7 separate regions of the Homo sapiens genome follow, and all the other regions are linked to region 6. Evidence: promoter capture Hi-C in human tissues and cell types (Jung and others, 2019). All regions are on one chromosome and are shown on one strand. Each heading gives the region's core, a stretch centred on a gene start or on the middle of the fragment in contact. The rest is flanking DNA. Distances are from core to core; before and after follow the strand shown. Region 1 overlaps TMEM38A (transmembrane protein 38A). Region 2 has its middle 12 kb from the start of KCNN1. Region 3 holds the start of SLC35E1 (solute carrier family 35 member E1). Region 4 holds the start of MPV17L2 (MPV17 mitochondrial inner membrane protein like 2). Region 5 holds the start of MED26 (mediator complex subunit 26). Region 6 holds the start of DDA1 (DET1 and DDB1 associated 1). Region 7 holds the start of IL12RB1 (interleukin 12 receptor subunit beta 1).

Region 1 (3,145 bases), core at 132-2,631, 630 kb before region 6:
GCTGAGGCAGGAGAATGGCATGAACCTGTGAGGCGGAGCTTGCAGTGATCTGAGATTGCGCCACTGCACTCCAGCCTGCGGGACAGAGCGAGACTCCATCTCAAACAAAAAAAGAGAGAGATTACATTTTGTGACCTTGTTATCTCATGTCAATACTGACTGTAGTTTTCATTTCATTAGAATAAGTTGTATTAGGGGAATCGTTGGTTTTGGCTCTGGTCATGTAATGTACAGAGTAGCTGTACCTTACAACTTGATCATAAAGTTGTTCTCTGCAAAACGAAACTAGTTGGGAAAGACAGAATCAATATGATGAAAGAAGTGGTCATACCAGGAGACACAAGTTCTAACTCCAAGGTGTGGCCTTAGAAGATTACGAAGATACAACATAAGGATAGAACTATTTATAAAGATTATAAAGGCTTTACATGAGTAATACAAGATGCAAGGATTTAGTGAATAGACATTAATACTGTACCCCGAGTGTTGCATTTTCATGACCTTTTTTTTTTTTTTTTTTTTTGAGAGGTAGTCTCGCTGTTGTTGGCCTGGGCTGGAGGGCAATGGCACGATCTCAGCTCACTGCAACCTCTGCCTCCTAGGTTCCAGCAATTCTCTTGACTCAGCCTCCCGAGTAGCTGAGATTAAAGGCGCCCACCACCACGCCTGGCTAATTTTTGTATTTTTAGTAGAGATGAGGTTTCACCATGTTGGCCAGGCTGGTCTTGAACTCCTGACCTCAGGTGATCCACCCACCTCGCCCTCCCAAAGTGCTGGGATTACAGGCATGAGCCACCGTGCCCAGCCCTTTTTTTAAAAAGAAAAAAAAAAAAAAAGCCCAGCTATAGGACCTAAGGACTCAGCAATGGGGTTTTCAAGCCCCCTTCTTTTTAATATGGAATTTTAAAATACTTCTTATCTTGGAAGAGTTTATGACTCACAAGAAGTTGCAAAAATGGTACAGAGAATTTGCAAATACCCTTTACCCAGCTTCCTCCAATGACATCTTATGTAATGATAGTGCATTATTAAAACCAGGAAATTGGCATGGGTACACTATCATTAACTCAACTACAGACTTTATATATTTATTATTTTTGAGACAGAGTCTCATTCTGTCACCCAGGCTGGAGTGCAGTGGTGCACTCATGGCTTACTGCAGCCTCAAACTCTTGGGTTCAAGTGATCCTCCCAACTCAACCTCTTGAGTAGCTGGGACTACAGGTGCATGCCACCATGCCCAGCTAATTAGAAAAAATTTTTTGTAGAGATGGGGTCTCACTGTGTTGCCCAGGCTGGCCTCCCCTCCCCTTCCCTCCCTTCCCCTCCCCTCTCAACAGGGTCTTGCTCTGGAGTGCAGTGGCATGCTCATGACTCACTGCAGCCTCCACCTCACCAGCTCAAGTGATCTTCCTACCTCAGCTTCCCGAGTAGCTGGGACTACAGAAGCATGCCACCACGCCCAGCTAATTTTTAAAATTTTTTGCAGAGGTGGGGTCTCACTATGTTGCCCATGTTGGTCTCGAACACCCAGGCTCAAGTGATCTACGTGGCTCAGCCTCCCAGAGTGTTGGGATTACAAGTGTGAGCCACCGTGCCCAGCCCGGAAATAAAAGCTTAATACATGCTACAATGGGGATGAAGCTTGAGGACATTATGCTCAATAAGCCACACAAAACAACAAAGTTTGTATGGTTTCGCTTACATGAGATTCCTAAAGTCATCAATTTCATAGAGACAGAAAGTAGAATGGTGCCAGGGGCTAGGCGATGGGGGATGAGGAGTGAGTGTTTAATAGGTTTCAGTTTGGGAAGATGAAAGAGTTTTGGAGATGGTTGGTGGTGATTATGGCAAAACAATGTGAATATAATGCCATAGAACCACACACTTGGCCAGCCACTTGGCAGTGGCTCATGCCTGTAATCCCAGCACTTTGGGAGGCCAAGGTGGGCAGATCACAAGGTCAAGAGATTGAGACTATCCTGGCCAACATGGTGAACCCCCATCTCCACTAAAAATACAAAAATTAGTTGGGCGTGGTGGCGCATGCCTGTAATCCCAGCTACTCGGGTGGCTGAGGCAGGAGAATCACTTGAACCCGGGAGGAGGAGGTTGCAGTGAGCCGAGATCGCGCCACCGCGCTCCAGCCTGGTGACAGAGTGAGACTCTGTCTCAAAAAAAAAAAAAAAAAAAAAGAGCTATACACTTAAAAATGTTTAAAATGGGCTGGGCATGGTGTCTCACGTCTATAATCCCAACTCTTTGGGAAGCTGAGCCAGGTGGATGGCTTGAGCCCAGGAGTTTGAGACCAGCCTGGGCAACATGGCGAAACCCCGTGCCTACTTTAAATATACAAAAAATTAGCCTGGCATGGTGGCGCGCGTGCCTGTAGTCCCAAATACTTTCGAGGCTGAGGTGGGAGGAGTGTTTGAGCCCAGGAAGTCAAGGCTGCAGTGAGTCGTGATTGCACCACTGCGCTCCAGGCTGGGTGATGGGAGTGAAACCCTGTGTCCAAAAAAAAAAAAAAAAAAAAAAAGTAAAGTGATAAATTTAATGTATATTTTACAAAAAAAAATTCTTTTTAAGACAGCAGGTGTAAGAATACCAGCATAAGGCTGGGCACGGTGACTCATGCCTGTAATCCCAGCACTTTGGGAGGCTGAGGTGGGAGGTTCACTTGAGTCCAAGAGTTGGAGACCAGCTTGGCCAACATGGTGAAACCCCTTCTCTACTGAAAATACAAAAATTAGCCAGGCATGGTGGTGGCTGCCTGTGATCCCAGCTACTCGGGAGTCTGAGGCAGGAGGATCGCTTGAACCTGGGAGGCAGAATTTGCAATGAGCTGAGATTGCACCATTGCACTCCAGCCTGGGTGACAGAGTGACACTCTGTTTGAAACAAACAAAAAAAGTTAAAAAAAAAAAAAAAAAAGAATACCAGCATAAGCTCATAGGGATCTTGGGATCAGCTGAGGTCAGAATAGCAATTTCTTTTGTTTCGTGTGTGTGTGTGTGTGTGTGTGTGTGTGTGTGTGTGTGTGTGTGTATGTGTGTGTTTTAGATGGAGTCTTGCTCTGTTGCCCAGGCTGGAGTGCAGTGCAGTGGTGCAATCTCAGCTCACTGCAGCCTCCACCTCCTGAGTTCAA
Region 2 (3,412 bases), core at 189-2,688, 650 kb after region 6:
AGGGCAGCTTCAGAGCTGGGGAGCAAGAGTTCAGCTGCTCTGCCAAGCGAGGTGGTTCACAACTGTAATCCCAACACTTTGGAAGGGCGAGGCAAGCTCAGGAGTTCGAGACCAGCCTGGGCAACGTACTGAAACCCTGTCTCTACAAAAAATTAAAAAAATTAGCCAGGTGTAGTGGTGCACACTTGTAGTCCAAGCTACTTGGGGGCCGAAGGTGGGAGGATCGCTTGAGCCCGGGAAGTCAAGGCTGCAGTGAGCCATGTTCATGCGACTGCACTCCAGCCTGGGTGACAAAATGTCACCTCCCTGAATGTCACCCACCTAGATCTCCCCATGGCGAAGGAACTAGGGGCAATGTGAGGGGGTGAGCAGGAACAGCATTGGGAAAGACAGATAAAGCATTCAGTGTCTAGCTTCTGGAGCCCAGTGAAAGGAGGAGTGGCCTTAGGGAGGGGACATGGAAGAGGTGGGGCTAGCCCAGGGCCCCATTGGAGTGATAAAGCCACTGTTCTTAAGCTTCCTGAAAGCTTAGGAGATGACCCAGCTCAGCAACACCAAGCCAGAGCGCAGATCTGCTGTAAAGACCATTGTACGTAATAGGCTGAAGCAGGTGAATCACCTCTGGCCAGGAGTTCAAGTCCAGCCTGGCCAACACAGCAAAACCCCATCTCTACTAAAAATACAAAAAGTAGCCGGGCATGGTGGCAGGCACCTGTAATCCCAGATGCTTGGGAGGCTGAGGCAGGAGAATTGTTTGAACCCTGGAGGCGGCAGTTGCAGTGAGCTGAGATCACATCACTACACTCCAGCCTGGGTGACAGAGCAAGACTCTGTCTCAAAAAAATAAAAAATAAGAAAGACCACTGTAGTCCGGGAGCTGTCTGCACCCTACTCTTTTGGGTCCCCGCCTCCACCCCGCACCCCCTGTCTGATCATTACAGATCTCAAAGGGACAGGAAAGGCAGCAGCAGCCACCCTCTCTCCCAGTCAAGTGGTCACCAGCAGGACTGAAGGGGACAGCCCCTTTGCAGTGGCTCGGCGAGGAGACCCCTGCACCCTAGGGTGAGTGAATCCCAGACTTGGGTCGCCTTTGGGGGTGGGGGTGGCTCAGGGGTTGGATAGAAAAATTGGTAACTGGGCAGGCTAGGTGGCTCACGCCTGTAATCCCAGCACTTTGGGAGGCTGAGGCAGGTGGATCACTTGAGGTCAGGAGTTTGAGGCCAGTTTGGCCGACATGGCGAAACCCCGTGTCTACTAAAAATACAAAAATTGCCCGGGGATGGTGGTGGGCACCTGCAATCCTAGCTACTTGGGAGGCTGAGGCAGGAGGACCACTTGAATCCGGGAGGCAGAGGTTGCAGTGAGCCAAGATCGCGCCACTGCACTCCAGCCTGGGCGACAGAGCAAAGCTCTGTTTCAAAAAAAAAAAAAAAAAGGTGACCTGAGGAAAAAGTGCCAGCTTTTGAAATAATAACAAGCTGGGTACAGTGGCGTGCACCTGTGGTCCTAGCTACTCGGAAGGCTAAGGTGGGAGTATCGAGTCCAGGAGTTCGAGGCTGCAGTGAGCTATGATCACGCTTGTGAATGGCCACTGCACTCCAGCCTAGGCGACAGAGCGAGACCCCCATCTCTTTAATTAAAAAAAAAAAAAAGAAAAAAGGCCAGACGTGGTGGCTTACGCTTGTAATCCCAGCACTTTGGGAGGCCAAGGCAGGCAGATCACCTGAGGTCAGGAGTTCGAGACCAGCCTGGCCAACAGGGTGAAACCCCCATCTCTACTAAAAATACAAAATTAGCCAGGCATGGTGCTGCATGCCTGTAATCCCAGCTACTTGGGAGGCTAAGGCAGGAGAATCACTTGAACCCAGGAGGCGGAAGTTGCAGTGAGCCGAGATTGTGCCATTGCACTCCAGCCTGGGCAACAAGAGTGAAACTCCATCTCCAAAAAAAAAAAAAAAAAGAAAGAAAGAAAAAAAATAATAATATAATTATTATTATATCATATATATCATGATGATGATAGCAAGGACTATGCTTTCTAGAGCCTCCGGGGAGTTACTGTCCACTTTCTTTGATCACTGGAGTTGGGGAAACTATTCAGAGAGGCCAGATGACCTAGAAGTGGGGTGTTGAGCCAGGTTGGAAGAGCTCTGTCCCACCACTCCCGCCCCCGCCCCCCACACACAGCCTCTACTTCCCGGCTCTCGTGGTCTCGCTGGAGACAGCCCCCAGGGTAGGCCAGCTCTGTGGAAGGCAGCTCCTGTGCTCCTTTCTCCAGTGAACTTTTTTTTTTTAGTTTTGTTTTGTTTTGTTTTGTTTGTTTGTTTTGAGACAGAGTCTGACTCTGTCGCCCAGGCTGGAGCGCAGTGGCATGATCTTGGCTCACTGCAACCTCCACCCTCCACCCCACCGGGTTCAAGCGATTCTCCTGCTTCAGCCTCCCAAGTAGCTGGGATTACAGGCATGCGTCACCACGCACAGCTAATTTTTGTGTTTTCAGTAGAGATGGGGTTTCCCCATGTTGGCCGGGCTGGTCTCGAACTCCTGACCTCAGGTGATCCACCTGTCTTGGCCTCCCAAAGTGCTGGGATTGCAGGCGTGAGCCACTGAGCCAGGCCTCCTTGGTGAACACTGACTGACATCCAGGGTCAGCACTAAGCTGCCCATGGGGGTGTGGAGAAAACAGAGGTGGTGGTCATTTAGTCAATCAACAAACACTGAGCAAGCTAGCTACTGTCTGCCAGGCCCTAGGCTGGATGCTGGGATGCAATAAGGACAAAGGCCAGCCCAGGTCAGCCCTTGTGGAATTTCATGGGGCATCAATTAAGCTTAAGTGTTTTGTGCTGGATACAGTGGCTGATGCCTGTGATCCCAGAACTTTGGGAGGCCAAGACAGGAGGATCACTTGAGCTCAGGAGCTTGAGACCAGCCTGGGCAATGTAGCAAGAACCCATCTCTACAATTTTTTTTTTTTTAAATTAACCAGTGGGGTGGTGCATGTGTGTGGTCCCAGCTACTCTGGAGGCTGAGATGGGGGGATCACTTGAGCCCAAGAGGTCGAGGATACAGTGGGCTATGATTGAACCACTGTACTGTAGTCTGGGTGACAGTGAGACTCTGTCTCAGAAAGAAAGCGAGAAAGAGAGAAAGGGGGCCAGGTGTGGTGGCTCATGCCTGTAATCCCAGCACTTTGGGAGGCCGAGGTGGGCGGATAATGAGGTCTGGGGATAGAGACCATCCTGCATGGTGAAACCCCGTCTCTACTAAATACAAAAAATTAGCCAGGGGTGATGTCGGGAGTGCCTGTAATCCTAGCTACTCAGGAGGCTGAGGCAGGCAGGAGAATCGCTTGAACCAGGGAGTTGGAGGTTGCAGTGAGCCGAAATTGCAGCACTGCACTCCAGCCTGGCGA
Region 3 (3,139 bases), core at 296-2,795, 740 kb before region 6:
ACGGATCACTTGAGGTCAGGAGTTTGAGACCAGCCTGGCAACATGGTGAAACCCTGTCTCTATTAAAAATACAAAAAAATTAGCCAGGTGTGGTAGTGCACGTCTGTAGTCCCAACTACTTGAGAGGCTGAGGCAGGAGAACTGCTTGAACCTGGGAGGCGGAGGTTGCAGTGAGCTGAGATTGTGTCACTGGACTTCAGGCTGGGCAAGAGTAAAACTCCGTCTCAAAAAAAAAAAAAAAAAAGTGAACACCTAACCGACAGCGTTCTGATCCATCCATCCCTAGTCCCACTGGAAAGGCCACACATGGGGTGTATGGCCAAGATGTGACCAACCCATCACCTACCAGCAAACCCAGGTAGGGAATCAAAACGGGGAGGAAAATTGGATCTGAAAGGGACAACAGTGTTCCTAAGACCACACAGCAGAGATCACAGAGGGACACATACTCCACACACCACTGCTCACAGGGTGATTCTAGAACTTGAGTAGTAAAAGGCCACTGGAGACCTCTACACTGACTTCCCTATTTGACGGGAAGCCAGGCAGCCTGCAGACCAGGATCCTGACCACGTCACCAGTTGGCAACAGGGAGGAACCCCCTGGAGCTCCCATCTGCCCAGAGTCCCTGCCCGGGGTTACCTTGGTGCTCTGCTTCTCCTTCATAATGATCCGGGACAGGAGGACCACCCAGATGGGCATGGTGGCCTTGACTGCAAAGAGAGGGATGGGCACTCAGGGGGCTGCCTGAATTTCAGGGCCCAACCTGTTCCACCTCCACGGCGGGATGGGAGGGCCTGGCAGCCCCTCACACCTCTTCGCCCCTTCTCTTTCGGTAGGGCTTCCTCCTGCCACGGCTGTTGTGGTCTGTCCTGCTTACCTCTCAGCTCTCTTCTCAGCTCCTCTTCTCCCTGAGAACCCCGTGCGTGTCCCTCCCCTACCAAACCCTTGGCAGCCCCTCTGCTGACTTCTCAGTCCGGCGGGACGCGCCCCGGGCGGCGCACTCCTATCCATGCGCCCAAACCCGAAGCGGCGGGCCCGGCCGCCGCCCCCGAGGCCGGGCGCGGAACCTACCGGTGTGTGCATAGGACACGGGCACCTTCCAGATGCTGACGTGCGCTGACACGGACGCGAAGTACTTGCCGAAGGCGAGCGGTAGCACGTAGCGCGGGTAGAAGCGCGGCGGCAGCAGCGGGCCGGACGACGGATGCGGACTGGGTCCGGGGCCCGAGACGGGCGGCGCGGGGGGCACGCGCCAGGCGCGCAGCAGCGGCGGGAGCCCAGCGCACAGAGCCAGGATGTGGCACAGCGACACGGTCACCGGGAACGGGAAGGCGCTCAGGATCACCTTGTTGACCACGTTGCCGCCCGCGCTCAGCGCGTACCACAGCAGGCACAGCGCCGCCACCCGCGCGCCCTCGCGCGCCCCACCACTGCTGCTCGCTGCGCCCGGGCCCCCCGCGCCGTGGCCCGCGCCCACCGCGGCCGCCGCCATCCTGCCCGAGCGGCCGCCCCTTCCAGCCCGTCCGACGGCCCGACGCCGGGCGGGGGCGGGGCTGGGCGGGGGGGCAGGCGCCCCGGTCTACGCCGTTTCCCATTGGTCGCTGCCTCCTCGCGTCATCCCTCCGCGCCGGCCGACGCGCCAGCCACCACGTCTCGAGTGCAGGCCCAGTCCACTGTAGATGCGCTTCCGGCGGAGCCGAGGCCGGAAGCGGAAGAAGGGGACACAGACCTGCGTCCAAGCTGTGCCACCTGAGACGTGGGCGGTCCCAGTGACCGGGAGCCGGAGCTCGAACGGGACGGGCGAACAGAAGCGCGGAGGGCTTCGCAGCGTCGGCGTCTGTGCGTGGGCCAAACATCAGGGCCTCGACCAGGGATACAAGGGCAACCGCTAACTAGATTCCTGATTCCTGATGGCTGGCGGCGGCTGACACCAAAGGTAAAAGGCCTTTTAGGGAAAGAAACCATTTGTGAAAAGCTCTTGGGCTAAACTCGCTCTGCAAACTGGGGGCGCACGCTCGTGGCCAAACTCTGGCAGTGGGACTATCCCGGAGCACCCGATCCCTGGAATCATGTTCTGGAAACCACCGCGACGTGCGCAGTTCTCGGGCGTGGCCCTGGTATCATCCCACTGAATCCTAGGAACGCGGTGCGGTAGGTATCACTGTCCGCATTTCACAGACCGAAGTCCAGAATGGGGAAGCGACTTGTCTTAGGCTTCCTGGCCACACTGGGGACCGTGGTCATGGTAGCGTCCTTGGACACCTGTCTCCAAGGCTCTGCAGAAGGGGGAGGTGCCGGGCCCTGACGGCTGATGTCCAAGGACCAGCCGGGATGGACCAGCCCCAGGAGGCCCCAGTGGAGGAAAACAGGACGAGGTTTTCAGTAAGATGATCTTATACTAATTCAAGGGCTATAATTTGTTCTCCACATCGTGTGCCTCCAACTTTTTCGGGGAAAGGGTGTTAAAATTCCGTTACAGTGTTTTTACTTGTCAAATTAGAAGCAGCAACCGGCTGGGTGCAGTGAGTCAAGCTTGGAATCCCAGCACTTTGGGAGGCCAAGGTGGGCGGATTGCTTGAGCTCAGGAGTTGGAGATCGTGGCATCGATAACATGGCAGAACCTCATCTTTGCAAAAAATACAAAAATTAGCCAGGCGTGGTGGCGCACGCCTGTGGTACCCACTACTAGGGAGACTGAGGTGGGTGGATCGGCTTGAGCCCAGGTCAAGGTTCCAGTGAGCTATGATGGCGCCACTGCACTGCAGCCTGGGTGACAGAGCGAGACCCAGTCTCAAAGAAAAGTAGAAAGCAGCAACCCAACTTGGCTCCCCAAATGTTGGAAGGTATCTTAGCTTATCCTTGCATTCTCAAAGGCCCTAGGCCCTTCTGGATACATGGACACAGGCATGGTAGTCCCTGCAGGCAGGGGTAGTGGGGAGCTGCAACCTATCCCAAAACTCTAGAGATGCTGATAGGAGGCCAAGCTCTGCACCCTAATATCCTCCAGCTGTACCCTCTGTGGATCAGAGTAAAGTCACATCCTTGGGACACCATGTCTCAGCAGAGCTGTTAAACATAGGCACAGTGAAATTAGGAAAGTATAACTATAGGCACCCTACAGCACAGCTGAGTGTCA
Region 4 (3,191 bases), core at 43-2,542, 880 kb after region 6:
GTCTGGAGGCAGGGAACATAAGGCCAAATCAAATGGAAACAATTCAGCTATGACAGGAAATATCTTCTCCATTTAAAGAGGGCATACATCCAGTAAATGACTTTGTAACTTTACTTCATCCTCTTCATTTACATAGGACGTACATTAAGTAACCAGTGAAAACCTCTAGAGGGCATTTAAACCCCAGAAAATTCTTAAACAGGTCTCTTGAGTCCGTATGCTCCACTGGCTCCCACCCTGCGGAGTGTACTTTCGTTTTCAATAAATCTCTGCTTTTGTTAAGCTTCATTCTTTCCTTGCTTTGTTTGTGCACTTTGTCCAATTCTTTGTTCAAGATGCCAAGAACCTGCACACCTTCAACAGTTAACAGCCCACAGGCAGTAGTTTGCGACTCTAGTAGAGAATGCATAGGGATTTCCATTGAAAATCATTTTTTAAGCCAGTTACGGTGGTTCACGCCTATCATCATCCCAGCACCTTGGGAGGCCAAGGCGGGTGGATCTCTTGAGGTCAGGAGTTCGAGACCAGCCTGGCTAACATGGCAAAACCCCTGTCTAGACCAAAAATACAAAATTAGTTGGGCGTGGTGGCCCGTGCCTGTAATCCCAGCTGTTTGGGAGGCTGCGACACGAGAATCGCTTGAACCCGGGAGGGAGAGGTTGCGGTGAGCCGAGATCGCGCCACCGCACTCCAGCCTGGGTGACAGAGCGAGACTCCATTTCAAAAAAAGAAAAAAAATAATTGTTCCCTACGGGAACGGTATAATTAGGATATAATTGTTTCTGGCCACAGATCACATCCCTTCTGGTTAAGTCCAGGAGAATCTGGAAATACGTAGGGCAACCAGGCCAGAAGGCGTTGTAACTGCCTAAGATTGACCAACCCTAACGCGGGAGGCGGGACGACGGTCACTGATTTGCCAGCGTGACGCCGGTCTGCGACTGGCCAGTGCCGTCCTGGGCGTGTCGGTAGGACGGGGCTGCGACGGTTTCCCATAGGCTGGCACAGAAAGGGGCGGGGAAACAAGAGTGCAACGTTACCAATCGGCATGCGGGACGTAACGCAATTCTTTTTTCCGATTGGTCCGTGAAGCTCGGGAGGTCGTTGGGGGCTCGACCTTGGGATAGAACGCCTGCCTTTTATTGGTCAATACTCTTCGGGCCGGGCAATGTGGCTCCCCGAGGCTGCCTGCGATTGGTGAACGCGTCGCGGCTCGGGGCGGACCTGCGGACTGAAGATCCTTATGCGATTGGCCGGGGAGCCGGAGGGGCGGGCAATTTGGGATCGACAGTGACTCGCGACTGGTCGGCGCGGCGAAAGCAGAGCGGCGCGCCGGTTCCTTGGTTCCTGAGGGCGATGGCGCGGGGTGGCTGGCGCCGGCTACGCCGCCTGTTATCCGCGGGGCAGCTTCTATTCCAGGGCCGCGCGCTGCTCGTCACTAACACGCTGGGCTGCGGCGCGCTCATGGCGGCCGGTGATGGCGTGCGCCAGTCCTGGGAGATCCGCGCCCGGCCCGGCCAGGTTTTCGACCCACGGCGCTCCGGTGAGGACGCCACGCTGCTTAGTCCTTCACCCCGGGCGACCTTTGATCCCGACACCCGACTGCGGGCCGTGACCCCTGACCCGTGGCCTCAGTCCCCCGCAGGACCCTTGCCCTGACCGCGCCTCTCCCCGGGTGTCTGTCTCCCCGCAGCTCTGGGTCTCCATCACCTCCCAACCCCCGGAGGTCTCTGCCCACTACCCAGGAGCCTCTGGAGCCGCGCCTCCTGGTGGGGCTTGTAGTGGAAGAATGCACGGGTGGGCTCTTCCGGTTTTCCCGGTGAGGCTGAGGCTCCGGGATGGCATTGGGCTTACCCAGGCCTTAGCCAGGGAGGGAGAGAGGGAATGGACTGAGGAACTTGCCGGCCCGACCCAGCCCCCTGACTTACACTCTTATAGCGAGCATGTTTGCGGTGGGCTGCAGCATGGGTCCCTTCCTGCACTACTGGTACTTGTCGCTGGACCGCCTATTCCCTGCGTCTGGCCTCCGAGGCTTCCCAAATGTCCTCAAGAAGGTCCTCGTGGATCAGCTGGTAGCCTCTCCATTGCTGGGCGTCTGGTACTTCTTGGGTAAGGAGCCTCCTAAGCCTAGGCTTTGCCTCTCATAGGTCGGGAGGGGTGGAGCCAGCTTTGTGTTAAGAAGGATGCAGAGGTGCATTTCCAATTTGCCCCCTGTTTGGGTCGCCCTGGACTAGGAGCCAGGTCACAGCGGGGACAGGACGGACTCGGCCGATGTGAACGCTGGCGAGTGTAGGAGGGACGAGGACTGTATCTGTTGGGGCTGCCCTGGGCGGGAGGTTGAGAGCATTTCCCAAAGAAGGGGACCACACTCAGTTGAGACATGAAGAGGGAACCAGCGGGCAGAGGGAACAGCTAATGCAAAGGCTCTGAGGCCTGAAGGAAGAGAAATTGAGGCTAGACTTAATGGGGTGCAACCGTGCCAGCCCTAGGCTCGGTAAAGACAGCGGTATTAATAGAGGAGTCTCTCATTCTCCACCTCCCAGCCCGGCTTCCTGGTCTGTGATGGAAAAGTAACACAACTCCCTCAACTTCAGGGTGTCTCCATTGGGGCACGTGTTTATATGTTTATAACCTCTCTTTCTCTCACTGGGACTGACTTGCTCTGTTTTGTCTCTACACCAGCTACCCTAATTCTCTGTCCATCCCATCTGAAAGTCCCTGTCCCTCTGCCCGGGGTGGGCGGCGTGGGCTCTCAGGGGCCCAACCCCGCCCCCTCCATCGTCAGCCCATCTTGTCGTCTCAACAGTACTTCCTGGCCTCTAACACTCTCATTTCTTGGTTTGCTTCCCAGGCCTTGGCTGCCTGGAGGGTCAGACAGTGGGTGAGAGCTGCCAGGAGCTGCGGGAGAAGTTCTGGGAATTCTACAAGGTGGGAGCACCCGCCCCTTGCACATGTCCGGCCCCGCCCCCTGATGGCCGCTCCGCCCCCGCCCAGCTCTGGCCCCGCCCCTCATCCCCCGCCTCTCCCCGCAGGCAGACTGGTGCGTGTGGCCTGCTGCGCAGTTCGTGAACTTCCTCTTCGTGCCCCCCCAATTTCGAGTCACCTACATCAACGGCCTGACGCTGGGCTGGGACACGTACCTGTCCTACTTGAAGTACCGGGTGAGTGTGGAGGGCATACCAGGCACCCAG
Region 5 (3,460 bases), core at 346-2,845, 680 kb before region 6:
ATTATTCCCAAAACATCATCAGAGTGAAGCATATTGCTAAGAGTAATCAGCCAAGCTCATGTAAAAATGAAAGCAAAAACCCCTACGGTGAGAGAAACCTGAGTTACCTGGCCAAGCCAAAGATGATATTTTTCTTCCATTCACAGCACATTAAAAAGTGATCTCAATGGCCACTTCCTGGGAAGCAGGGCCTCCCCTCATACCTGGATGCTACTGCATCTTCCTACCGCCCTGCTCCTGCCGCGGGAAGAATGACCCCTACTGCCAAGAAACTCTTGGAGAAAATATGAGAATAGATCAGTCTTCCCCCCCACCCCCCCACCCCCGCAACAACACACACACACACACGGAAGGGGAGGGGGCGGTCCCTCCGCAAACAGTAGCCTCAGCAAAGGGGCACCCGAGGAAGCGACACTCTGGAGTTAACCCCGACAGTCTGGGTCAAAAACCACCAGGCTGAGACCCCCAGGTGAGGGAAAGAGCCTACTGAAACAGAGCTCTTGGGTAAACGGGAGAGAAAAGTCCTCTTTAATTCACTACCTAAAAAATGGAGCTCTGGCTTGGTCAGAGACGCAATGGGTACTGAGGCCCAGAAAGGCAACAGGAAGGATCCCACCCTCCCCGAGATCATCTATCGTCGGCAGCGACCCCAAGAGGGTTTTGGCAAAGGCGTGTCTAGTCACAGAAGGGAGACAGACTCTCCACGTACCCTAGGTACCCGGCCAGGGGCAAAACAGACTGGGGGTTCTCTCCGAAGCCAGGAAGGTGCTGCCAGCCGAGAGGAGGGGGAAGAAGGACTTCCCTGATCACCCAGGAGGCCAAGACATGGGAGACATAGGTTCCCCGAGTCATACCCCGGACACCAGTTGCTTCACAGCCCTTCTCCCTCCCCTTCCCGCTCCGGGAGGGCTTCCCGGGGGTCTCGGGTCCCGGAGGGAGGGCGAGGCAGAGAAGCTTCGTCCAGAGCAGTGAGGGTCGTAGAGCTGGAGCAGAAAGGGAGGAAAAACTCTAGCCTCAGCTCCCCCGTCTGCTTCCTCCGCCCAGGCCGCACGGAAGCCTCGGCCTCACGTACCGAGCGCTGCCGGGCTGCCCGACCTGCCCCCGGCCCGGGCCCGAGAAGCGAGAGGCAGGGATGGCAGCGGCCCTCGAGGGGAGGTGGGCGCCAGACGGGTCCCCCGAAGCCCGGTGGGCGAGGGGTACAGGAGAGGGGGAGGGTCCCGGGCCCATGCGGCCTCCGTCCCAGCTCGCGCGGCGGGTACTTACGTTGCTCTGGGGGTCGATGGCCTGCAGCAGCCGGTCCCTGATCTGCTGCGGAGACGCCGGAGCCGCTGTCATTGCCTGGGCGAGGCGGGGGGTTGCGGCCGGGCCAGCGGGCGGGCGGGCTGAGGCGGGGGACGGGGGTCACTCACTCGCCGGCCTCCGGGAGCCGGAGCCGCATGTTCCCCGCGGCGCCGGGGGGTTGGGGGCGCGCGGGGTGGCGGAGAGGGGAGCCGGGGCCGGGTCTCGGTCCCGGGCCGCCGCCGCCACCAAAGGAGGAGGAGGAGCCGCCGGAGCCGCCGCCGCTCGCTGCCGCCGCCTCGAGAACCAAACTCCAGTGAGCTGCCCCCGCGCGGAGTACTCTGGGTAGTCCGCGCCGCACGCAGCGTCGGCGCCACGCTGAGGAGGTTGGGAGATGGGGCGGGCGGAGACGCCAGGCCTGGGCGGGGCTGCCCGTGTGCCACGCCCCGCGCCTCCGCGCAAGCGCGCGCAGGCGCACTCGTCCGCCCGTGACGCCCCGCCCAGCCGCCCGGCCTAGGCAGCCGTTGGGAGGAGGTTGGGCGGGGCAACGGCCCCCGTCCAGGTCACGGGGCGGGGCTTTCTGACGGAAGCGCGCGCGCAAAGAGTCCTTGAACCCGGACGCTCGCAGCGGCTACCTCGGGGCGGGGAGGGCGGCGGGAAAATCCTTCCTCTGGGAGAGCCTTCCCGGCGCGTGACTGGGGGACGGGAGTCGCAGGCTGAGCAGCTGCCGAGTTTTTTGTGAGGGCGAGGGAACCAGACGTCCACGTTGTGATTCTGCGCGCAGAAGGGTCATCGGAGTCCGGGGGTGTCGCCGCGGCCCCCCCGCCCCTCAGAGGGTGTGGGAATGGGTGTGGTGGCAGGGCGGGGGTCTGCACCGCCACGCGCGACCCCGATCGCGAAAACGTGAGGCGGCAAAGCGCCTCTGGCAGAAGCCGCCCGCCGTAGCTGGGAAAGCCGGAGGTTGCAAATCTGCGTCTACGCGGCGGCTTCTCCACCTCGGCACCACTGGCATTTGGGCGGGATCGCTCTGTCTTCGGGGCGGGTCCCCCGATCTGTCGGAAGTTGAGCGGCATCTCTGGCCTCCGAAGCGCCCCCTCCCCCAATCTGCAGTCATTGCCGCCGTCCCTTGTGGGGGCACAGTCCCCCCGCCCCCCCACCGGCAGAGAACCCCGTGATTGAAAGACCCTTCTACCCGCCTCTGCCTTGAGATTCTGTAAAACTGAGATGCTCATTCTCTTAACCAAACACGTCACAGAGGAGGAAACGGAGGCCCAAGGTCACCTAGACTTCGGGGTTAAGCCCAGAACCGCAGATGTCAAGTTTAAGGGCGCCCCTCCTCCCTCCACCCTGTTTATTGCCTTGGTAATTGCTCCCCTCTCTCTGGGAGCTCTGTTGGAAATGCTCTTGTGAGACGGGATGGAAAGGCAAGCTCGGCGGCCTCGGGAGAAATCTTTTTTTTCCCACTGTTACAGGAAGACCTAGATTTAAAACAGGAGGAAGACAGCTGATGAGAACCACATGTGTGCCTTGGAGCTGCCCGACACCTGTTAGTCTTGTATTTGTTGTGCTTCTGGGAAATATTTTCATTTGCAAAAACGGCTGCTTCTGCACGTGGCTATGGTTGCGTGCTTCTGCACATGTGAAAAGTTTTACATCACACTTGGAGGAGAAAAGAAACACGGGCAAAACACTTGTCATTTACTGCTCCCAACCTCGCCCCTCCCAGAATGCGGTGCATTGTGTACATGGTGTACATGGTCCAAGTTGGAAACTGGCCCATTCGGAGATAATTCTCTCATTTCTGATAAGCAAAATAAGCAAAGCCTTCCTCAGGCATATTCTGGTCTTGCCTCTCTCTTAATTTCTAACTCGGATGTACAGTATCTTTTTTTTTTTTTAATAAAGTATTACATAGGAGGCAATTTATTTTGCATGGGTCAGGTTATTTTAAGAAACATTTGGGCCGGACGTGGTGGCTCAAGCCTGTAATCCCAGCACTTCAGCAGGCGGAGGTGGGCGATCACTTGAGCTCAGGAGTTCGAGACTAGCCTGGCCAACATGGTGAAACCCCATCTCTACTAAAAATACAAAAATTAGCCGGGCATGCTGGCGCGCACTTGTAATCCTGGCTACTAGAGGGGGCTGAGGCAGAAGAATTGCTTGAACCCGGGAGGCGGAGGTT
Region 6 (3,646 bases), core at 722-3,221:
TCCCAAGTAGCTGGGATTACAGGTGCATGCCACCACGCCCAGCTAATTTATGTATTTTTAGTAGAGGGGAGTTTCACCATGTTGACCAGGCTGGTCTTGAACTCCAGCCCATAAGGAGTTTGAATCTTCCACTTGTCCCTTGGGGATGTTTGATTTTGAGCAAGAATTTAACACTGTGAGGTGCATTTGTCGCCTATAAAATGCAGTGCTGGTTTCTCCTCTGCTCTGTTGCTGTTGGAGTAATAATACTTAGTAGCTTCCACTTAGCAACTTCACTGTGCAATTGCTGTGTGCTGGGTGCCCATTCTTTGCCCTGGAAGTCAGGAAGGCAGTTTGGACACAGAGGTGTCAGGGCTGGGAGGGGGATTGTGAGGGCTGTAGGACTTCAGGGAAGGTACCTGACTTGCCTTTTTGAAGAATGCAGTCAGGGAAGTCTTGGAGGAAATGGCAAGGTCTGGGAGAGCCCAGACATAGAAGGAATTGGTTAGAGGTGAGGACACAGGTGGGCAATGAAGACCGCAGGTGCCCATAAATGGGGCCAAGGAGGTGGGATTGAATACTAGGGAGTTACGGGAGGTGGTTGAGCAAGACGGTGTCGAGGAGGAGCTAGGGAGTGTTATGGTTCTTATCTTCTAGGGCTGCTTTAAAAACGTAATAAACACAAGAAGATGCCGGCACGATGGCTCCCAGAACTTTGGGAAGCCAAGTCTGGAGGATTGCTTGAGGCCAGAAGTTCGAGACCAGCTTGGGAAACATAGCAAGACCCCTGTGTCTTTTTTTTTTTTTTCTTTTGAGAGGGAGTTTAGCTCTTGTTGCCCAGACTGGACTGTAGTGGCTTAATCTCGGCTGACTGACACCTCCGCCTTCTGGTTTTAAGCGATTCTCCTGCCTCAGCCTCTTGAGTAGCTGGGATGACAGGCGCCCGCCACCACGCCCGGCTAATTTTTGTATTTTAGTAGAGATGGGGTTTCACCATGTTGGCCAGGCTGGTCTCAAACTCCTGACCTCGTGATCCGCCCGCCTCGGCTTCCCAAAGTGCTGGGATTGCTGGGATTACAGGCGTGAGCCACCGTGCCCCGCCTTTTTTTTTTTGAGACAGAGTCTCCCTCTGTCCGCCAGGCTGGAGTGCAGTGGCGCGATCTCAGCTCACTGCAAGATCCGCCTCACTCACGGTTCACGCCGTTGTCCTGCTTCGGCCTCCGGAGTAGCTGGGACTACAGGCGTCCGCCACCACGCCCGGCTAATTTTTTGTATTTTTAGTAGAGACGTGGTTTCACCGTGTTAGCCAGGACGGTCTCGATCTCCTGACCTCGTGATCCACCCGCGTCGGCCTCCCAAAGTGCTGGGATTACAGGCGTGAGCCACTGCGCCCGGCTGGCTTTTTTTTTTTTTTTTTGAGACTGATTTTCGCTCTTGTTGCCCAGGCTGGAGTGCAATGGCACGATCTTGGCTCACTGCAACCTCCGCCTCCCGGGTTCAAGTGATTCTCCTGCCTCAGCCTCCCTACTAGCTGGAATTACAGGCGCAGAGATGGGGTTTCACCATGCTGGCCAGGCTGGTCTCGAACTGCTGACCTCAGGCGATCTACCCGCCTCGGCCTCCCAAAGTGCTAAGATTACAGGAGTGAGCCACCGCACCCGGCCGAACCTCGCATCTTAAAAACACACAGACACACAAAAGCTCTAGAGAGCCTCGCGGAGCTGTAAACTACAGCTCCCAAGAGACTTCGCGGCCGAGGCCTCCGCCCACTTCCGGATCTCACTTTCATTGCTTCCAAGTACCGGGAGGTGCTTTGCTTCTTCAACCGAACTTGACCACAATGGGAGGAGGCGTGGCAACCAATGGGCGCATGAGTTAGCTGGATGCGGCCAATGGAAGCGTGCAAAGCGCTCCTATGTGGGGGCGGGGCTAGACTGCACACCAATGACAGGGAGGTGGTGGCGCCATCAGTGTGGGCTGTGCCGTGGCTGGAAGTTACTGTGAGGCGGCGGCTAAGAAGGCGGCTCTGGTGGCGGCGGTGGAGGCTGAGGCGGCGGCCGAGGCGGCGACGGAGGAAACAGAAGATGGTGAGGATGGCCTCCAGGCCCCCACTCCCCCTCTGCTAGACAAAATGGCGCTGTGGTCCCACCCACCTCTAGTATCCCCCTAGGCCCCTCTCCGTTCTGCCCGGTCCCCTCAGGTCCGGCCCGCCCCTCCCACTCACCTGTGACCTTCGACCCCCGGACCCTACCGAGAGCTTCCTGCTGATCCCACTGCCACTCCTTCTCCGACCCCTGACCCCATCCAGGATACCAAGCCCTGACAACTCATTCATTTCCGGGTTGCGGCTCCCCCCGGAAATCGTCTGGGGTGGGGATGGGGTCCCGTAAGACCCCCTGGTCTGGCCTCGTTCTCAGCACGCCGGACCTGGATCTCTTCAGTTCAGGAGAATTTGGGAGGCCGGCCTGGGCCCCGGGGCGGGGGAGGGGGCTTGGCACCGCGATATGCAGGGCTTTGTCGCCAAAGGAAGTGCGACATCGCCGATTGTCCCGGTTCCCCGGGCCCTGACCCCACCTCCACCATTCTGGGCCCTTACCCGCCTCTAAGAATGAAAAACTTTTATCTCCGATCCGCATGGATTGTCCCTGTGAAATGAGGGTAGCAGTAGTCTGAACCTCTTAGGGTGGTGACAATTTAGGTAACTGACGTCGTAAAGGACTCAGGATAGTGAATGCTCAACAGATGAGCTGGGTGACTCGAGGCCAGTGACGTTCTCTTCTAGCTGTCCCCTCATTATGAAGTGTGGATCGTCCCCACCTGGCTGTTGGAAGGTTGAAATTCCTTCAGGGTTCCTCAGTCATCCTGGAATTTGGGTCTGGTGGTTCTTCGGGGTTCAGTCTCCCCACCTGAAAAGTGGGATGGTGACCCACCCTCAGAGTGGAACTAAAGCCTCTCCACAACCCCCATTAGTTGGCATCCTGAGGGCTGGGAAGGGTGATGGGAAGCTTGGTCAAGATACCTCAAGTCTCCTTTGTCCCCTGACCCAGAGTCCCAGCCCACAATCCACAGTCCTTGGGATGTGGTGGGGATGAAAGGAAGACTCCCTTTCAGGAAGGAAATGGGAAGGTGGGTTCCTAGTGTGCGGGTCCCCAAGCCTGGGAGTTGTCCTTGATACCTTGGTACAGTCTCATCCCTACAGCCAATCATAAGTGGATTAGATTGTCTCTGCCTTCTGAACACACCTGAATTCATCCATGGCTTCATGCCCTGTTGCAGGTACTGCCACTTCCCACCTGCATACCTGTCCCAGCTTCTTCCCTGGTCTCCTAGCCTTGCTCTCACCCCTTTGGCAGTTCATAATTCACCTGAACCAGAAGGAACTTTTTTTTTGGAGTCAGGGTCTCACTCTGGCGCCCAGACTGGAGGCTCAAGAGATCCCCACACCAGGCTCATTTTTGTACTTTTTGGAGAGATGGGGATTCCCTATGTTGCCCAGGCTGGTCTCAAACTCCTGGGCTCAAGTGATCCTGCCTCAGCCTCCCAAAGTGCTGGTATTACAGGTGTGAGGCACTGCATGGGGCCTGAGAAGGAGGTTGTTTTTTTTTTTTCTTTTGAGATGGAGTCTTGCTCTGTCGCCCAGGCTGGAGTGCAGTGGCATGATCTCGGC
Region 7 (3,373 bases), core at 84-2,583, 780 kb after region 6:
GAAAGTTTATTTATTATTATTATTATTGAGATAGAGTCTTGCTCTGCCACACAGGCTGGAATGCAGTGCTGCAATCTCGGCTCACTGCAACCTCTGCCTCCTGGGTTCAAGCGATCCTCCCACCTCAGCTCCTAAGTAGCTGGGAGTACAGGTGCCCATCATCAAGCCTGGCTAATTTTTGCATTTTTAGTAGAGATGGGGTTTCACCATGTTAGCCAGGCTGGTCTCGAACTCCTGACCTCAAGTGATCCACCCATCTTGGCCTCCCATAGTGCTGGATTTTCAGGAGTGAGTCACCGTGCAGGGCCTGAGATTATTAAAAGTATATGGGAAGGCTGGGCATGGTGGCTCATGCCTGTAATCTGAGCACTTTGGGAGGCCAAGGTGAGTGGATCATTTGAGCCCAGGAGTTCGAGACCAGCCTGGGCAACACAGCGAGACGCTGTCTCTGTAAAAAGTATACACCAAAAAAATTAACCAGGCATGGTAGTGTGCACCTGCAGTCCCAGCTACTCAAGGGGCTAAGGCAGGAGGATCACTTGAGCCCAGGTGGTCAAGGCTGCAATGAGTTATGATTAGGCCACTGCACTCCAGCCTGGGACACAGAGTGAGACCCTACCTCAGTAAATAAATAAATAAATAAATAAATAAATAAATAAATAAATAAATAAGTAAAGTATACGGAAGGATGTGCATAGGTTATATGCAAATACTTTACCATTTTATATCAGGAACTTGAGCATCTTTGGATTTTGGTATCTGCAGAGGGTCCTGGAACCATTGCCCCGTAAATATGGAAATGACTGTATACATTATATTATGTATGTCTATCTATTGTAAACTACATACATAAGATACTATACTATGTATACCTATTAGATACATACTTGCTTTTTATTCCTTCCTTAGTTTTTTTTCTCATTGAACTCCGGGAGGTGGAAAAAATTTAGTGCATTTCACAGAAGAGAAAATCTAGACCAGAGGAAAGATGTCTAAGTTCGATCCCAGAAGCCATGACTGCCCATCTCCCATTTGACAGCAGGAAAGACTGAGGCACAGAGAGATGAAACCAACCCACACAGCAGGCCCACAGCTCTCCACACATACACGTGCCTCCACCCAGCAAGAGGAGCCGCCATGCCAGGGTCAGGGGACTCACCGCCCTGCCTGGACAGCAGGAAGAGGAAGAGGAGGGGGACCACCCAGGTCACCAGCGGCTCCATCGGATCCACGTAGAGCCCCACAGCCCCAGGGGAGCCTCTCTGCCACCTGCGAGGTTCAGCCACCCCGTCCCCACTCCGGAACACATTGAAGCTGAGCAAGGAGAAAAGACTGAAAAAAAAGAAAAAAGAAAAAAAGTAAAGTGTCACAGCCCATCCCTAAGGCAAGTCAAAGTGAAAGAGAAACCCAGGAAGTCAGCTCCGTGGTGGTGGTGATGGTGGCGGCCACAGACTCTGGAGCAAGTCTGACTTTGGAGCAAGTCAGGGTTCTAGGGGGTTCTGCCCTGCTGGCCCCAGACCTGAACTGAACACCCAGATGCCAGCCCCATGGGCCCATGGGCCACCTGTGGTTCCATGCACTTGGCCAGGTCTCTGGCCCTCTCTAGCCAATTTTTTTTTTTTTTTTTGAGATGGAGCCCTGCTCTGTCGCCCGGGCTGGAGTGTGGTGGCATGATCTCCACTCACTGCAACTTCTGCCTCCCGGGTTCAAGCAATTCTCCTGCCTCAGCCTCCCGAGTAGCTGGAATTACAGGCAACTGCCACAACATCGAGCTAATTTTTGTATTTTTAGTAGAGACAGGGTTTCACCATGCTGGCCAGGCTGGTCTCGAACTCCTAACCCTAAGTGATCCACCCACCTCAGCCTCCCAAAGTGCTGGGATGACAGGCGTGAGCTACCGTGCCTGGCTGCCAAATTCTTTTTTTCTTCTTTTGAGATAGGGTCTTGATCTGTGGCCCAGCTGTAGTGCAGTGGTGCAATCACGGCTCACTGCAACATCAACCTCCCCAGGCTCAGGCCATCCTCCTACCTCAGCCTCCCCAGGAACTGGGACTACAGGCATGCACCACCACGCCCAGCTAATTTTTGCATTTTTTTTTTTTTAAGAGAGGGGGTTTTGCCATGTTGCCCAGGCTGGTCTCAAACTCCCGGGTTCAAATGATCCGTCCGCCTTGGCCTACCAAAATTCTGGGATCACAGGCGTGAGCCACCGCACCGGGCCATCTCGCCAGCTTCTGAATCTGAGACTCAAGAGCTGAAGGAGGGCAGTGTTCTTGGATGGCCTAATTTCATCCTTCCAACAAATTGTTACAAAGAGCTTGCAGCATGCTGGCCCTCCACAATGCCCACCTCCCCACATGCCAAGCTCCAGCCTTGTGCACCTGGGCTCACCCCTCTAATCCCAGCACTTTGAGAGGTCGAGGTGGGAGGATCACTTGACCCCAGGAGTTTGGGTCTACCTAAACAACATAGCAAGACCCCATCTCTATAAAAAATAAAGAATTAGGCCAGGCGCGGTGGCTCACGCCTGTAATCCCAGTACTTTGGGAGGCCAAGGCAGGTGGATCACGAGGTCAGGAGTTTGAGACCAGCCTGACCAAAATGGTGAAACCCTGTCTCTACTGAAAATACAAAAATTAACCGGGTGTGGTGGCAGGCACCTGTAATCCCAGCTACTGAGGAGGCTGAGGCAGGAGAATCGCTTGAACCCAGGAGGTGGAGGTTGCAGTGAGCCGAGATCGCGCCACTGCACTCCAGCCTGGGCAACAGAGTGACACTCCATCTCAAAATATATATATATATATAAATTAAAAGTTAGCCAGTCGTGGTGGCACACATCTGTATTCTCAGCTACTCAGGAGGCTGAGGTGGGAGAATGGCTTGAACCCAGGAGGTTGAGGCTGCAGTGAATCGTGATTGTGCCACTGCACTCCAGTCTGGGTAACAGAGCAAGATCCTGTCTCTTAAAAAAAAAAAAAAAAAAATTTAAGAGATGCAACTTAGTCTTTCCCCCATGTTCCATTTCTTAGCCTCTGAGTATTTTGTTTCCTGCCCCTCCCTCCCCACTGTCGGCAAAGCCTCTAAATGTCAGTGGAGAAGCTCTGATCCAAGCTACCATGTGGATGAACCCTCAAAAACATAATGCTGGGCTGGGTGCAGTGGTTCACATCTGTAATTCCAACACTTTGGGAGGCCGAGGTGGGCGGATCACCTGAGGTCAGGAGTTTGAGACCAGCCTGGCCAACAAGGCGAAACCCTGTCTCTACTAAAAATACAAAAATTTGCCAGGCCTGGTGACATGTGCCTGTAATTCCAGCTATTCGGGAGGCTGAGGCAGAGAGAATTACTTGAACCTGGGAGGTAGAGGTTGCAG

What was found. Contacts are between HindIII fragments. The study calls those that stand out against the background at their distance.
Region 1: a fragment that was not itself captured here is called in contact with the fragment with the promoter of DDA1 in region 6 in 1 of the 25 tissues and cell types used here (aorta).
Region 2: a fragment that was not itself captured here is called in contact with the fragment with the promoter of DDA1 in region 6 in 2 of the 25 tissues and cell types used here (dorsolateral prefrontal cortex and thymus).
Region 3: the fragment with the promoter of SLC35E1 here is called in contact with the fragment with the promoter of DDA1 in region 6 in 1 of the 25 tissues and cell types used here (pancreas).
Region 4: the fragment with the promoter of MPV17L2 here is called in contact with the fragment with the promoter of DDA1 in region 6 in 1 of the 25 tissues and cell types used here (thymus).
Region 5: the fragment with the promoter of MED26 here is called in contact with the fragment with the promoter of DDA1 in region 6 in 1 of the 25 tissues and cell types used here (spleen).
Region 7: a contact is called between the fragment with the promoter of IL12RB1 here and the fragment with the promoter of DDA1 in region 6, in 1 of the 25 tissues and cell types used here (dorsolateral prefrontal cortex).

What each region holds. Positions count from the first base shown.
Region 1 is chr19:16,676,254-16,679,398 of GRCh38, forward strand. All of the region lies in intron 1 of TMEM38A (transmembrane protein 38A), which reads left to right. Among named protein-coding and RNA genes, the nearest start is that of TMEM38A, 17 kb to the left of the region's middle. The HindIII fragment of the contact is 4,607 bases long and covers 1-3,145 here.
Region 2 is chr19:17,953,620-17,957,031 of GRCh38, forward strand. It overlaps a transcript of KCNN1 not described here. Among named protein-coding and RNA genes, the nearest start is that of KCNN1, 12 kb to the right of the region's middle. The HindIII fragment of the contact is 4,437 bases long and covers 1-3,412 here.
Region 3 is chr19:16,570,870-16,574,008 of GRCh38, forward strand. SLC35E1 (solute carrier family 35 member E1) reads right to left here and starts at 1,546. Exons shown (of 6, transcript NM_024881.5): 1 at 1,075-1,546; 2 at 643-713. The coding sequence starts at 1,495. LOC105372295 (a long non-coding RNA gene) reads left to right here and starts at 1,681. Exons shown (of 3, transcript XR_936360.3): 1 at 1,681-1,939. RefSeq lists silencers at 913-1,042, 1,203-1,312, 1,443-1,662 and enhancers at 1,581-2,455, 1,763-1,852. The HindIII fragment of the contact is 29,713 bases long and covers 1-2,945 here.
Region 4 is chr19:18,191,926-18,195,116 of GRCh38, forward strand. It overlaps MPV17L2 (MPV17 mitochondrial inner membrane protein like 2), which reads left to right and starts at 1,293. Exons shown (of 5, transcript NM_032683.3): 1 at 1,293-1,543; 2 at 1,939-2,109; 3 at 2,852-2,928; 4 at 3,033-3,161. The coding sequence starts at 1,357. RefSeq lists a silencer at 818-997 and an enhancer at 1,388-1,437. The HindIII fragment of the contact is 8,354 bases long and covers 1-3,191 here.
Region 5 is chr19:16,626,609-16,630,068 of GRCh38, forward strand. MED26 (mediator complex subunit 26) reads right to left here and starts at 1,596. Exons shown (of 3, transcript NM_004831.5): 1 at 1,264-1,596. The coding sequence starts at 1,335. LOC105372296 (a long non-coding RNA gene) reads left to right here and starts at 1,824. Exons shown (of 2, transcript XR_936361.3): 1 at 1,824-2,640; 2 at 2,751-3,200. RefSeq lists silencers at 1,460-1,519, 1,620-1,879, 2,130-2,209 and enhancers at 1,724-2,655, 2,760-2,809. The HindIII fragment of the contact is 10,464 bases long and covers 1-3,460 here.
Region 6 is chr19:17,307,592-17,311,237 of GRCh38, forward strand. It overlaps DDA1 (DET1 and DDB1 associated 1), which reads left to right and starts at 1,972. Exons shown (of 5, transcript NM_024050.6): 1 at 1,972-2,066. The coding sequence starts at 2,064. RefSeq lists enhancers at 1,275-1,836, 1,558-1,747, 1,837-2,400 and a silencer at 2,188-2,287. The HindIII fragment of the contact is 11,596 bases long and covers 1-3,646 here.
Region 7 is chr19:18,085,601-18,088,973 of GRCh38, forward strand. It overlaps IL12RB1 (interleukin 12 receptor subunit beta 1), which reads right to left and starts at 1,334. Exons shown (of 17, transcript NM_005535.3): 1 at 1,160-1,334. The coding sequence starts at 1,223. RefSeq lists enhancers at 1,246-1,595, 1,606-1,665. The HindIII fragment of the contact is 62,137 bases long and covers 1-3,373 here.